Linked DNA regions of Homo sapiens: region 1 is linked to region 2. Evidence: promoter capture Hi-C in 16 types of primary human blood cells and fetal thymus (Javierre and others, 2016). All regions are on one chromosome and are shown on one strand. Each heading gives the region's core, a stretch centred on a gene start or on the middle of the fragment in contact. The rest is flanking DNA. Distances are from core to core; before and after follow the strand shown.

What was found. Contacts are between HindIII fragments. The CHiCAGO score rates a contact against its expected background, and 5 or more counts as called.
Region 1: a fragment that was not itself captured here is called in contact with the fragment with the promoter of PYGO1 in region 2 in 1 of 17 cell types (M1 macrophages); the score reaches 5.3 in M1 macrophages.

Annotation. Positions count from the first base shown.
Region 1 is chr15:55,827,275-55,833,234 of GRCh38, forward strand. It overlaps NEDD4 (NEDD4 E3 ubiquitin protein ligase), which reads right to left. Exons shown (of 29, transcript NM_006154.4): 27 at 5,734-5,830; 28 at 3,240-3,312; 29 at 1-2,725. The coding sequence ends at 2,623. Among named protein-coding and RNA genes, the nearest start is that of PRTG, 87 kb to the left of the region's middle. The HindIII fragment of the contact is 2,596 bases long and covers 3,061-5,656 here.
Region 2 is chr15:55,584,205-55,590,421 of GRCh38, forward strand. PYGO1 (pygopus family PHD finger 1) reads right to left here and starts at 4,141. Exons shown (of 3, transcript NM_001367806.1): 1 at 3,631-4,141. The coding sequence starts at 3,679. LOC124903497 (a long non-coding RNA gene) reads left to right here and starts at 4,346. Exons shown (of 2, transcript XR_007064647.1): 1 at 4,346-4,615; 2 at 5,099-6,217. RefSeq lists silencers at 3,913-3,962, 4,043-4,162. The HindIII fragment of the contact is 18,242 bases long and covers 1-6,217 here.

The DNA of each region.
Region 1 (5,960 bases), core at 3,109-5,608, 240 kb after region 2:
TATGAAAATGATCCTACTGACTGTCCCGCAGTAGAATGCATTTGAGACACTTTTCTATCTGGGATAAGGGGCTGTGTTGCTTGATAGATGTTTCTTCCAGACCACGAGCCCCTAGTGGGAGATGAAGGGGATGAAGGTCTGCAGCTGGGGACTGGTGGCAGTTGAGTCTGGTCTCATTTAACATCATGTTCTATGAGTCACAGAATCATCCAAATGAGTATCAGCCAGATACAAAGAAAGCTTTGTATTTTCTCATGCTTAGATAGTTCACAAACATAATATTTAAATAATTGTGGCAAAATCCTGTTTTAACAAAAATAATTTTCACATTCCATTCTACATAATGAGGACATTTCCAAAATGCATTGGCCCACATTACTATTACTTTGCTGATATGAAGAAAATGAATTATGATGGTAAGATCCATATACAGATATACACATGTGTATCCATATTATTTATATATTTAATATCAGAAATGTTCCTACTTCCTTGTCTCTTAGAAGTCACTTTACTTTTAAATGATTCTTTGGGAGTGTGGTCAATTTGCACACCTGACTTGACACAATCTGACGGTCAGCACAAAGCACCTTCTGATTGTATAACACTTTACAAAGTACTTTTTGCTTTCTCATCTGTCTGGAACTTCTGACAATCTGGCATGACAATGAGGGTGGGCATGATTACTCTCATTTGACAGATGAAGAAATATGAATCCAGAGAGGTTAAGTAAGCTGCTTCAGTTCACATGGCTGGTGAGATATCAAACCAGGACTATACCTGGTGCTCATCCTTGACTGCTGGTTGACAATGGTGAAGACAAAACGCAGGGTACATTAATCTGTGAATTGCTTCCCCTAAACCATGCTGATGCTGTGGTGTTTGGAAAGTAGAAAGTGGTTTTGCTACTGTCACATTTCAGATTTCTATCAGGTGCTAATGAGTACTCATCATGTTATACCCCAACAAACTTAAACCAAGAACCAGAGGTACTTTTTACAGTTCTCACAGGGTGTGTATATATATATATTTAAGAAGATTCGTAACATATATTTACAATTATTCCTAAATCACCAAGATACCATACTGAGAAATAGGTTTAATCTTTTTAAGAGCATTTTCTATATAATCATTCCAATATAAGGATGAAACAATATAAGTATGAAATATAAATACAGTCTTGGCACACTTTATCTTTGCAGGTGTGCTGGAACCTAGAACACTTTCCCTTTTGCCTTATTCTGCTTACGCCTACTTTTGATTGTTTTACAAATTCATAGACACATTTGCAAGTTCCTTGAGGATCAGGACTCAGCTTCTCTGAAGCTGACAACTCTTACCCCAGAGCATAGCACAGCGCTAGGCACGCAGCATTCAATAAACGTTTGATGAATACATGTACATGGTCTTTATGTACTTCAGTTTGGTTAAAGGAAGATATGAACTGTAGCATTTTGCCTACAGAATTCTGGATTTGTAATTAAAAACATTGTCTTCATAGTAAACAGTATTTTAAAAGGCATAAGAAATAGTAATAAATTTAATACAAATTATGCATTATAACAACTCTTTGGTTATTTTAAACAAATTATTTGGTTTTTTTACTAGAGTGATACTAAAAATATAAAAATGCGACTACAGAAATTAGCTTAATCTGTAAACATGATAAACCCTGTAAACATACATTTACTACATAATTGTACAAGTGTAAAGAATATCTAGTAAAGGCAAGTGCTATACACTTCATTTAGTTCTTCAAGGCATATTTAGAAATACTGCTTTGTGGATCTTTAATGTTTGAAGAAGGAATTCTTCTAACTACACTAAAATATGAAAAAGTGATGACTATACCAATGGTCAATAGGATATGCAGGCAAGAGAAAGGCTTTAATACTTTTTACCCATTGCAAATATGAATTTGCTTCACATGTCTTATGAACCATCTGTTTAGTAAAACTGCATATTAACAAAAGCCAAATACTTCGAAAGTGAAGAAGTAAACAGTTTTTCTGTGAGTTAGTTGGCTAGAAATATAGGTAACACACTTTCCAAAGTTTTTTCCCAAAAATCTAGGCAGTAAGGTGCATAAGGCAGGTCTACAAAATAATAAATAGCTGCGAGTAGCACTAAATATATTGTAGTTTACTCAATAGTAAAGTATTTCTTTTTCCAAATTTCAGTTTTCCATCTCAAAATGCATCAAACTTTTCACACATGACACGTATCACAAATATTTCACAGTTATCATCTCAGTAGTTTAAGAAAAAACTGCCTGGCAGATACTATACAAGAGGTAAATGTTAAGGACAAAATTCACTATTTAAGTCATACAGGACTTATATCCTATTGTGTGAACTCTAAAGCCAGGTGTGGTGGTGCCTGGCTTTAGGCAGGCACCTAACTCTAAAGACAGCATGAAACAACTGTGTAAATGCAACACATTATTTAAAAGTGATTAAAAATAAGTTGTCGTACTATTTCTTCAAATGCTTTTTATATGATTTTCTTCAAGATCTGGGAAGACTCAGTGGCCACATTTTAGTAGTTCCCCGGAAAATTTTAAGTCAAGATTTTGGTTATAAAACTATGGCAGTAAAAACACTACAGATTGTTATTTGTAATCTAATCAACTCCATCAAAGCCCTGGGTGTTTTCAATTGCCATCTGAAGTTTATCCCATAATTCTTCAAATGATTCATAAGGTGGCAAGTCCAGGCGATTAAAACTGAAAGAACAGAGAGGAAGTGGTTATGAAAGACACTGACAAAGCAAGTACCACCACAGCAAACAGAGCAATGCTGCTATTCTTGATGAGAATGTTCCAACACCACCAAAATATGTCTTTTCACCAGGGGTAGAAGTAAGACGTAGGACTGGGTTCTGGGCATGGATACTCTGCACAACTCCTTGTGGAGTGCTGCCCCCACCACATCTTCCAAATGTCTGAGTTCTCTGCCACTTCAGCCTCCAAGATGGAATGTTCTAGCCTGTCTTGGGACAGCCCATCACTCATCACTCAGTTTAGGTGGGTCTCTCTGATCTTCAGCTACCTGGACTTCAAGCTTGGGCCAACTTGGTAACAAAACACCTGTTCGTTGGGTGTCACCAACTCCTTCTTACCCATAATCCATACCTGCCACCGACATAACACAGAGGAGACTAGCCCTGCTGTGGCTAGACTAACAGAGGAATCTCACTCTCTGAGGCTTTGTTCTATCAAGGTCCAAACAACTGCTTACCAGGTATGAGCTCTTGGCAGCTTTTCAGGAGTACCCCACTGTTCAACTGTAAATGACTGTGGTCCATTTGAACCTATAAGGAAGAATTTATTTGGTTTCATTTACTCTCTACAAGGATCTCCAGGCATATCAAAACTTTTTCTAGTGTACACTAGTTCCTACACACACACAGGGAACTAATCTGGTTTATTTATTTATATTTTAGAGATGGGGTATCCCTCTGTCACCCAGACTGGAGTGCAGTGGTACGATTCAAGCTCACTGTAGCCTCAAGCTCCTGGGCTCAAGTGATCCTCTTGCTTTAGTCTCCTGAGTAGCCAGGACTACAGGTGTGCACCACCACGCCTGGCTAACTGTTAAAAAAATTCATTTTGTAGAGATGGGGGTCTCACTATGTTGCCCAGGCTGGTCTTGAACTCCTGGCCACAAGCCATTCACTCTGTCACCCAGGCTGAAGTAAAATGGCATGATCTCGGCTCAATGCAACCTCTGGCTCCTGGGTTCAAATGATTCTCATGCCTCAGCCCTCCCAAGAAGCTGAGATTCCAGGAGTGTGCCACCACACCCAGCTAATTTTTGTATTTTTACTAGACATGGGGTTTCACCATGTTGGCCAGGCTGGTCTCAAACCCCTGACCTCAGGTGATCTGCCTGCCTCAGTCTCCCAAAATGTTGAGATTACAGGCATGAGCTACCGCACCCAGCCGCCTTAACATACTTTTTATTGGCTATCTAATATTGTAATTTTAACATTTTGAAATAACTTCTTCCTATAAATACATAAGAATTTGACTTTGTATTCTAAGAATTTGACTTTGTATTCTAACACAAACAACTCTGGCTCTATGTGTGGGATATTTGCCCCAAATTTCAAACAGTGCATGAAATCAGTGGATGGCTATGGGGCTGGGTTACATAGAAGAGAGAAGAGAGGCCAGAGACGGAAAGGGGCATTTGTTTGCCCTGCCTTCATTTTTCGCTACTAACTTGTTAAAGTAGAGAAGATGGAGGAAGGGGAGTCAGGTGAAACCATGAAAAAGAAAGAGGCTATCAAGTCCAATTAGGCAAAGAATGACTGAATTGGTTACTGGCAAAGCTAACCACTTTGAGTGGTTACTCTAGGTAGAGAGGTAGCAGCTGCTTGATCAGTTCTGCAAACTCATATTAATGAGGCTTGGCAAGCTGACCAGATTTGCCATGGAGAAGAAAGGTTTAGCTATCCCATCATATGGTCAGCTTCTATTTGCACAAAAAATTCAGCTTAGCAATTTCCTAGGCAGCAGTCCCGACTTGTAGTCCCCAGGTCAATCCTAATCTTACTCATTGTTCTGAGTAGGCCTCCTACTTTAGGTACATCCTTTGTAAAAGATTTATTCTTGGATTCTTGGTTTCCTTAAAAGCAAGTAAATATCATTCCAATAAACAGAATATGAATCAATATGAGAAAAGTTGCTGTAATCTACATCAGAAATGGCACTTTTAAACAAAACACACTTCCAGTTTTATACATCAACTGGAAAATAATTTGATAGAATACATAGAATCTTACTTTACCGAAAACTGCATTAACTATTCTGAAAATCAAGAGATATGTAGTCTTCCCAGTCCTGCTGCCTCCCACAAGAAATGAAAAATAGTAGCCTAATGAGATTCTCCACCCCTATCTTGAAAAAAAAAAAAAAAAAAGATTTCATGATCAAATAAGTTTGGGAAACAATGCTTTTGTTTTCTTCTAACAGTAAAGGTTCTACAGAAGTCCTGAAGAAATCCATTTAACTTTGTTTAGTCCAGCATTTCCTTAAAGGTATTCAACCATGACTCTGTTTTTATTTTTTTAAAAATACACTTAGTAACATTCTGTGAAACTTCAAATGCTATCCTGAACTATCACATTAGAAGTAATGCTTTTTCTTTTTTTTGAGACAGGGTCTCAGTCTGTCACCCAGGCTGAACTACAGTGGTGCGATCTTGGCTCACTGCAACGTCCGCCTCCTGGGTTCAAGCAATTCTCCTGCCTCAGCCTCCCAAGTAGCTGGGACTACAGGTGTGCACCACCAAGCCCAGCTAATATTTGTATTTTTGGGTAGAGACGGGGTTTCACTGTGTTGGCTAGGCTCATCTTGAACTCCTGACCTCAAGTGATCTGCCTGCCTCGGCCTCCTGAAGTGCAGGATTACAGGTGTGAGCCACCCCTCCCGGCCAAGGTAATGCTTTTTCTGTAACGGATGCATACTGGGCATAGAATTTGAAGTTAAAGAACGGAAAGTGACTCAAGTCATTTGATGTTTCCAGTTTTCCCCTTTATTATCTGATTAGAAGGTGTAAATATATTTTAGCCTACTCCAGTGTCCCTAATGGTATCACTTTCAAAATCTTAATTCTTTTTAAAATTAAGCTAAGTGTTAGTAAATGATGGAAGCTTGCGGATTCGTCAGCCATGAAAAAGACAATACGCATTATTCCATTTTTTTAATGATCTATGGAAAATCCTTACCGTATAGTTCAGCAAATCCATTCATAGGCACCCGAGATGTGCCAGTGACAAACTGAAGTAATCTTATTCTTTTTTCTGAATCCATCATTAAAACAGCCTGAATAAGATAAAAACATCATTTAGGGAACAGCACTGGGAAAGAGGTAAACAAATTATCCTGAAACATAAGCTATCGGAATTTAGAATATTAATAATCCCTTACTAGATGTGGATGTTTCTTTCAGTTA
Region 2 (6,217 bases), core at 2,891-5,390:
CTCCCTGGGCTCAGGTGATTCTCCCACCTCAGCCTCCCACGTAGCTAAGACCACAGGCACATGCCACCACGCCCAGCTAATTTTTCGTACTTTTAGTAGAGACAGGTTGTCGTCCAGGCTGTTCTTAAACTCCTGGAGTCAAGTAATCCACCTGCCTCAGCCTTCCAAGGTGCTGGGATTACAAGCGTGAGCCACTGCGCCCAGCCAGGTGTCATATCTTAATTAGTGCATTCCCACTATATGGCACTGTGATTGCTCTATAAATATTTGTTGAATAAATGAATGAATATTGCCATCAGATCAATGCCTAAAAGAGTTCTAGGAATACTGGAGAATGGGAGTATTGGTTAAAATAACGATGGCAGTTGACATTCTAAGGGAAAAGGGCAAGTAAAAGTAGTATGAGGGGAAATGGACTATCAGAAAGCAGCATAATTCATGTATTCACTCATTCATTCATTTGACATTTACTATGGGCAAGGCAAATAAGATAATCAAGACATAGTACCTGTCCTCATAGATCTGTCTTATAATCAAAAGGTGAAGGTTTGGGGGTGGAGTGTTAAGAACTGGTAGAAAATAGGAGTAAGATACTGTGTCACTAAAGAGTAATTCTAAATCTATTGTTAAAATATAAGGACAGTTTGGAAGACCACAGCCAGCTGCTTCTGGTCTACTCACACCTTTATAATCTAGGTCTATTAGTGGCATTTCTCAAACTTCAGTATGCATAAGGAGCACCTGGGGATCTTGTTAAAGATGCAGAAGTCCCAACTCTGTGGATCCCAGAAGTCCTGATTCCGTAGATCCACGAATCTATATTTTAATAAGCATCACAAGTGATTATGATGCTTTTGGTCTGCAGAGCATGCTACTGTAAAGTCCTCAGTCATTCATGTTTTAGTTTTGCCATATCTGAGTTCTACCTATAATATTACTTTCTTAATAATTCATGTAATTGCTATATGTGTGTTAATAATTCATTTAAATTGCTATATGTGTGTATTTATACACATATGTATCTTAGCCTTATCCTAAGCAAGGTATTTGGTGACTCTTTTAATACATATAAAATAAATACACAACCATTAAAAAGGTCTGTCTCTATCACATCAGCAGATGGGAAACAGTTTGAAAAGCACTGCTCCAGAGTTTATGCCCTGCAAACACCACATCCTGCATGCAGTCTGATGATATAAATTACATTAAATAACAAAAAGCTCCAGGGCAATGAAGTTCAGCAGAATGGTGCTTCAGAAGAGCTAATCATAAAATATTCCAAAAAATTTTTTAATGAATGTTCTAATTATTACAAAATGACATTAAGAAAATTCTCCCCATAACATAAAAATACTGACTTTTTATTTTAAAAAGTGTTTTGTCTTTTATTCTGGTACTTAACTCTCAGAATATTCTTGAGCTGACACCGGAGCCAACCCCAATAGCTACGCCATAGAACTTAACAGCAGTTGGAACAAAATGAAGATATATCTGTGTTCTTGACCCACAATAAAACACTCATCCATTTTATTTAGAATTAAATTTGATTAGGACTGATAATTCAGTTCAAAGGTATAAACTTGATAGCTCTTTCTTTTCCTTTAACCCCAAAACAATTTATAATAGTAGGCAAAATTATACAGCACAAATATCAGGGGAATAATTGTATCTCAGGAAGGTCTATTCCTTAAAGGCTTTGGCAACTCACAACCACAAACAGAAAAAGACAATTAAAATATTTCACCAAATTAAAGGTTGTGCTGATATTAAGCCTTTAAAAACAATATTCTCTAAATTATGTTTTCTCTTAAATGGCTAAGAAAATCATTTTCTACCAAAATACTCTTGAGTGGATGTCTTTTGGATTGTGTGTCACAAGCTAGTTCTATACATGTTTAATTTCTAGTCACATTGAACAAAAACAAAAATGAATGACTGTGGTCCTTCATCTCTACATCACTTAAGTCAGCCGGAAATTTACCTTCCTACTTACTGATTTATAAAGCATTTTACCCTGTTTACCCTGTTTGGATGACTATTGCAATCACCTCCCTACTAGTCTCCCCTGCTTCAGCCTTTTCTCTACAGTCTATTCTCCGCACAGCAGCTTAAGATGCCCTGTTTAAAATGTCAGATCACTCACTCTTATGCTCAAAACTCTGCAGACCTTTTCTCAGAGTAAAAGCCAAAGTCTTTTAAATGGCACACCAGGCCCTCTAATACACAATCATCCTATAGCCGGCAGCATTAAGACTACTGAACGACTGTAATTTTACTATTAAAATGCTATAATTTAAAAATGTACTCTTAATGATATCTATCACCTTTGCTCACTTTTCAAGAATCAAATAATTCTTGATCCTACTCCTTAGCCCCTGTCACAGGACTCTTTCCTTGCTCACTTTGCTGCAGTTACAATAGCTTCTTTGCTGTTGATTGCACACACTGGGCATATTCCAGACACAGGGGCTTTGCATTTGCTGTTGCTTTTCAGAGACTGCTCTTCCCACGTGAATTCATATGGCCCTGGCTCTATCATTTCCTTTAGGTCTTTGCTCAAACATTATCTACCAGGTGAGCCCTTTCATGATCACCTTACATACAATCCATACTTCCCATCCCCACACATATTTCCTCTCCTCTATTCCTGTTTTGTTGTCCACCATACCACCTACGATTTGACATTCTGTATCTACTGTTTATCATTTGTTTATCCCACAAGAGGGTGAACTCCTACTGGATGAAGATTGTCTATCTGCTTTGTTCACTGCTGTATCCCAGTAACAAGAACAGTGTCTAGCACATAGTAGATGTTCAATAAATATTTGCTTAATGAACAGTGAGTACTACTCCAACTCTAGAACTTTCAGTCTTAACCTTATTAAGAGCTAAAAGGCATCCCCCAATTTCCGGGTGGCATTTGACTTTTGTGAACTTATATGCAGTATCTTTTGTTTGACACATGGTTCCCTCTGATTTTTCTTAGATGATAGTAACACGAAAGGAAAATTCCTAACCAGTGCGCAAGAAAGAAGAAAATCAACCATGCATAACACTGATTTTAGATAATATCTTATCCATAAACCAACAGAGAAAATGCCTTCTGAATTTGTAGCTTCTCCTCTTAAACCTACGGAAAATAAACTGAATATTTGTTGCCTTTGCCGGGGTGGGGGGGCGAGAAGGGGGCCAGGAGAGACGTGAAAGCCCAGGAGCCCTTCTTCAACAGCATCAACTCTTGTGTACTCCAACTTACTTTTTTTGAGGGGGTGGGCACCGTTCGAGGTCTCTGCCAGGGGGTGTCTGTTTTTCACCCTTTGAGGTGCCTATTGTGCTGTCTTGAGAACGAGGAGAGGTGGGTGAGGAGGGGGTAAGAAAGGATGCTGCTTGCGGCTCCAACTGCCTCCGAACACAAAGTCGGGAGGCGAGGGATCCGCGCGGATGTCTCGGGGGCCAGCGGGCGCCCGGGCCGCGCGCTCGGATCGCAGCCTCGGCCCCGGGGTGCCGGCGGGACGCGGGCTGCGCGGACTTAGGCCCGGACAGAGCCCCATGGCCTCCCGGCGGCCGGGCACGGGGCCCCGCGCACCTCACTCACCCCGGTTCCCCCAATCCGGCACCCTTCTCGGTTACCTCGAACTCTCTTCAGCGAAATGGGATCCTTCTCCTGTTCTGCTGACATTACAGACCGCAAAGCATGACTCCCCCCCAGGCCGCGGGAATTCGGTCTCTTTGATGCTGCGGCGGCGGCTCCTCCTCCTCGCGGGGCCGCTGCGGCTGCGAGGCAAGCCTCGGAGCCGAGGCACGGCCGAGGGCGGTGGGGACGCGGGCCGACTTTGCAAAGTTTGGGAGGAGGACGAGGCCTCGGGGCGGCGGGGCGGCGGGGCGGCGTGCGGGCACCGGCGGGGCTCAGCGGCGGTGGCCGGGAGCGCGGCCTGGGGGCGGCCCCCCACCCGGGGCCGGCATGTGCTGAGGGCGAGTGCGCCGCCGCCGCCGCCGCCTCCTCCCACTCCTTCTTCTTCGCCGCCGCCTCAGGAGCCGCTGACAGGGGAAGCAGGAGGCTCGCGGCCCGGCCCTGGCGGCACACTCACAGCGCCCTCTGAGGAGGAGGTCTGCTCTCTCGCCGCTCCCGAGTCGCAGACACAAAAGCCCCCAGACTGGAGCCGCCTGTAAAACCCGCTCTGGGGCGGGCGAGGGACGTGGCGCGGCCCCGCGGCTTCCCCGCCCTGAGCTCCCCAGCCCCGCGCGGGGACGGGCTTCGGGGGGCGGGGGCCGCTGCCTCGTCCCGCGGCGCCTCCCGCCACCGCCGCCGCCTCGCGCTCCGCCTCGGCCCAGCCCCCACGGCCCGCGCGCGCCTCTTGCTCCAAGCCGGGGCTCGCGGGCCCGCGGCTCTTGCAGCCCGGGTGGGCAGCGCGCGCCTAGGGGCCGCCCCGCCCCGCGCCCGGCGCTCCCTCGCCGACCGCCAGGCCCGAGAACGCCCGACCCCGCGGCCGACGCTACCGGGCCCAGCTTTCGCAAGGAAAGGGCATCTCCGAACTTCGTCGGAGGCCACAGCAGCAGGCGTCTCGGCCTCGCAGCTAGGGATCGGAAAGATGAACGTACCATGCGAGGAAACTTTGTAAGCGGGAGCTGGAGAGTTCTCGGCGGGCATGTGGGGATCCAGATTCCCCGACTCCGTGTCCGCGTGGCCGTGGTGTGGACACCTGTCTGTAGAATGCCTCCACTTGGTATTTTAACGACTTGACTCTTCAAGAAAGAGCGACGTAGAATAAATACCAGAAAGGACGGTGGGCGGGGGAGGGGGGAGCGTGGGTAGAAGCGGTGACGCGGCTGGATCTCATTTAGACGTTAAATTTTAGGAGGAACACCCCCAGTGTGATTGTAAATTAGATGTGATCACCGGTCCACATTCTTCAGTTGGGCTGTGTGACCGGAGGCGACTTAGGTAACCTCTCTGGGTCTCAGTTTTCTTGTCTATAAAAGGCAGTGGGGCTACATCTCGAAGGTCTCTTCTAGCTCCGACATTGTTTAACGCACTTCTACGAAATTGTTTTCCCTGGTTTTTGTTTTTTGTTTTTTGTTTTTGTTTTTGTTTTGCTAGGTTTTCTGGTTATCCACTGGGCTTATTTTGATGTAAGAATCACCGAAAAGCACTCATGAAGCGTGGGAGGACACAGAACTAGCTACAGACAGGAGTCTCGTCCTTCCGGAGACAGACACCCAACTCATTCAGCTGCACAGTGTCACAGAGAACAGATGTTAACATGAAGCCAATGTACAGCCTCAACAGCTGCATACCAGACAATCGCCACAGCGGCTGATCGTCGTTAAGACATAGCGTGGCCGGAGGCAAATGTTACCCTTTATCTAATAAGGGTGGTCTGGAATTATGGAATTCCTGATTAGAAGAGTCAGACTAGGACAGGCTAAGGAAAATATTCTTACAGGAAGCACTCTGAGGAGAAGGTTCCTCCTAACTAGAATGTAAGCGCCATGCAGGCAGGAATTTTGACTGGCTCACTGCTGTATCCTCTGGTACCTAATACTGAGTAACACATAGTAAGTGTTCGGGAAAATATTCATTGATGTATGAATAAAGAGATTTGAAGTGGCCCTGGGACGACTGGGGTGGCAGGGCTTTGGTAAGTGTAATAAAGCCGAAGCAAATGGTAATATAATAAAGCAGATTGGGGGCCGGGCGCGGTGGCTCACGCCTGTAATCCCGGCACTTTGGGAGGCCGAGGCAGGCGGATCATGAAGTCAGGAGATCAAGACCATCCTGGCTAACACGGTGAAACCCCGTCTCTACTAAAAATACAAAAAAAAAATTAGCCGGGTGTGGTGGCGGGCGCCTGCAGTCCCAGCTACTCGGGAGGCTGAGGCAGGAGAATGGCGTGAACCCGAGAGGCGGAGCTTGCAGTGAGCCGAGATCGCGCCACTGCACTCCAGTCTGGGTGACAGAGTGAGACTCTGTCTCAAAAAAAAAAAAAAAAAAAAATTAAAAATAAAGCAGATTGAATCTAATAATCTATGTTATAGGGTGGTTGGAGGAAAATTTGAAAGCACTTTGGTAAGTCAACAAAGAAATGAAGGCCAGCTGTGGTGGCTCACGCCTGTAAATCCCAACACTTTGGGAGGTTGAGGCGGGAGGATCACTTTAGCCCAGGAATTTGAGACCAGCCTGGGTAACAAAGCTAGACCCTTCTCTACAAAATAATTT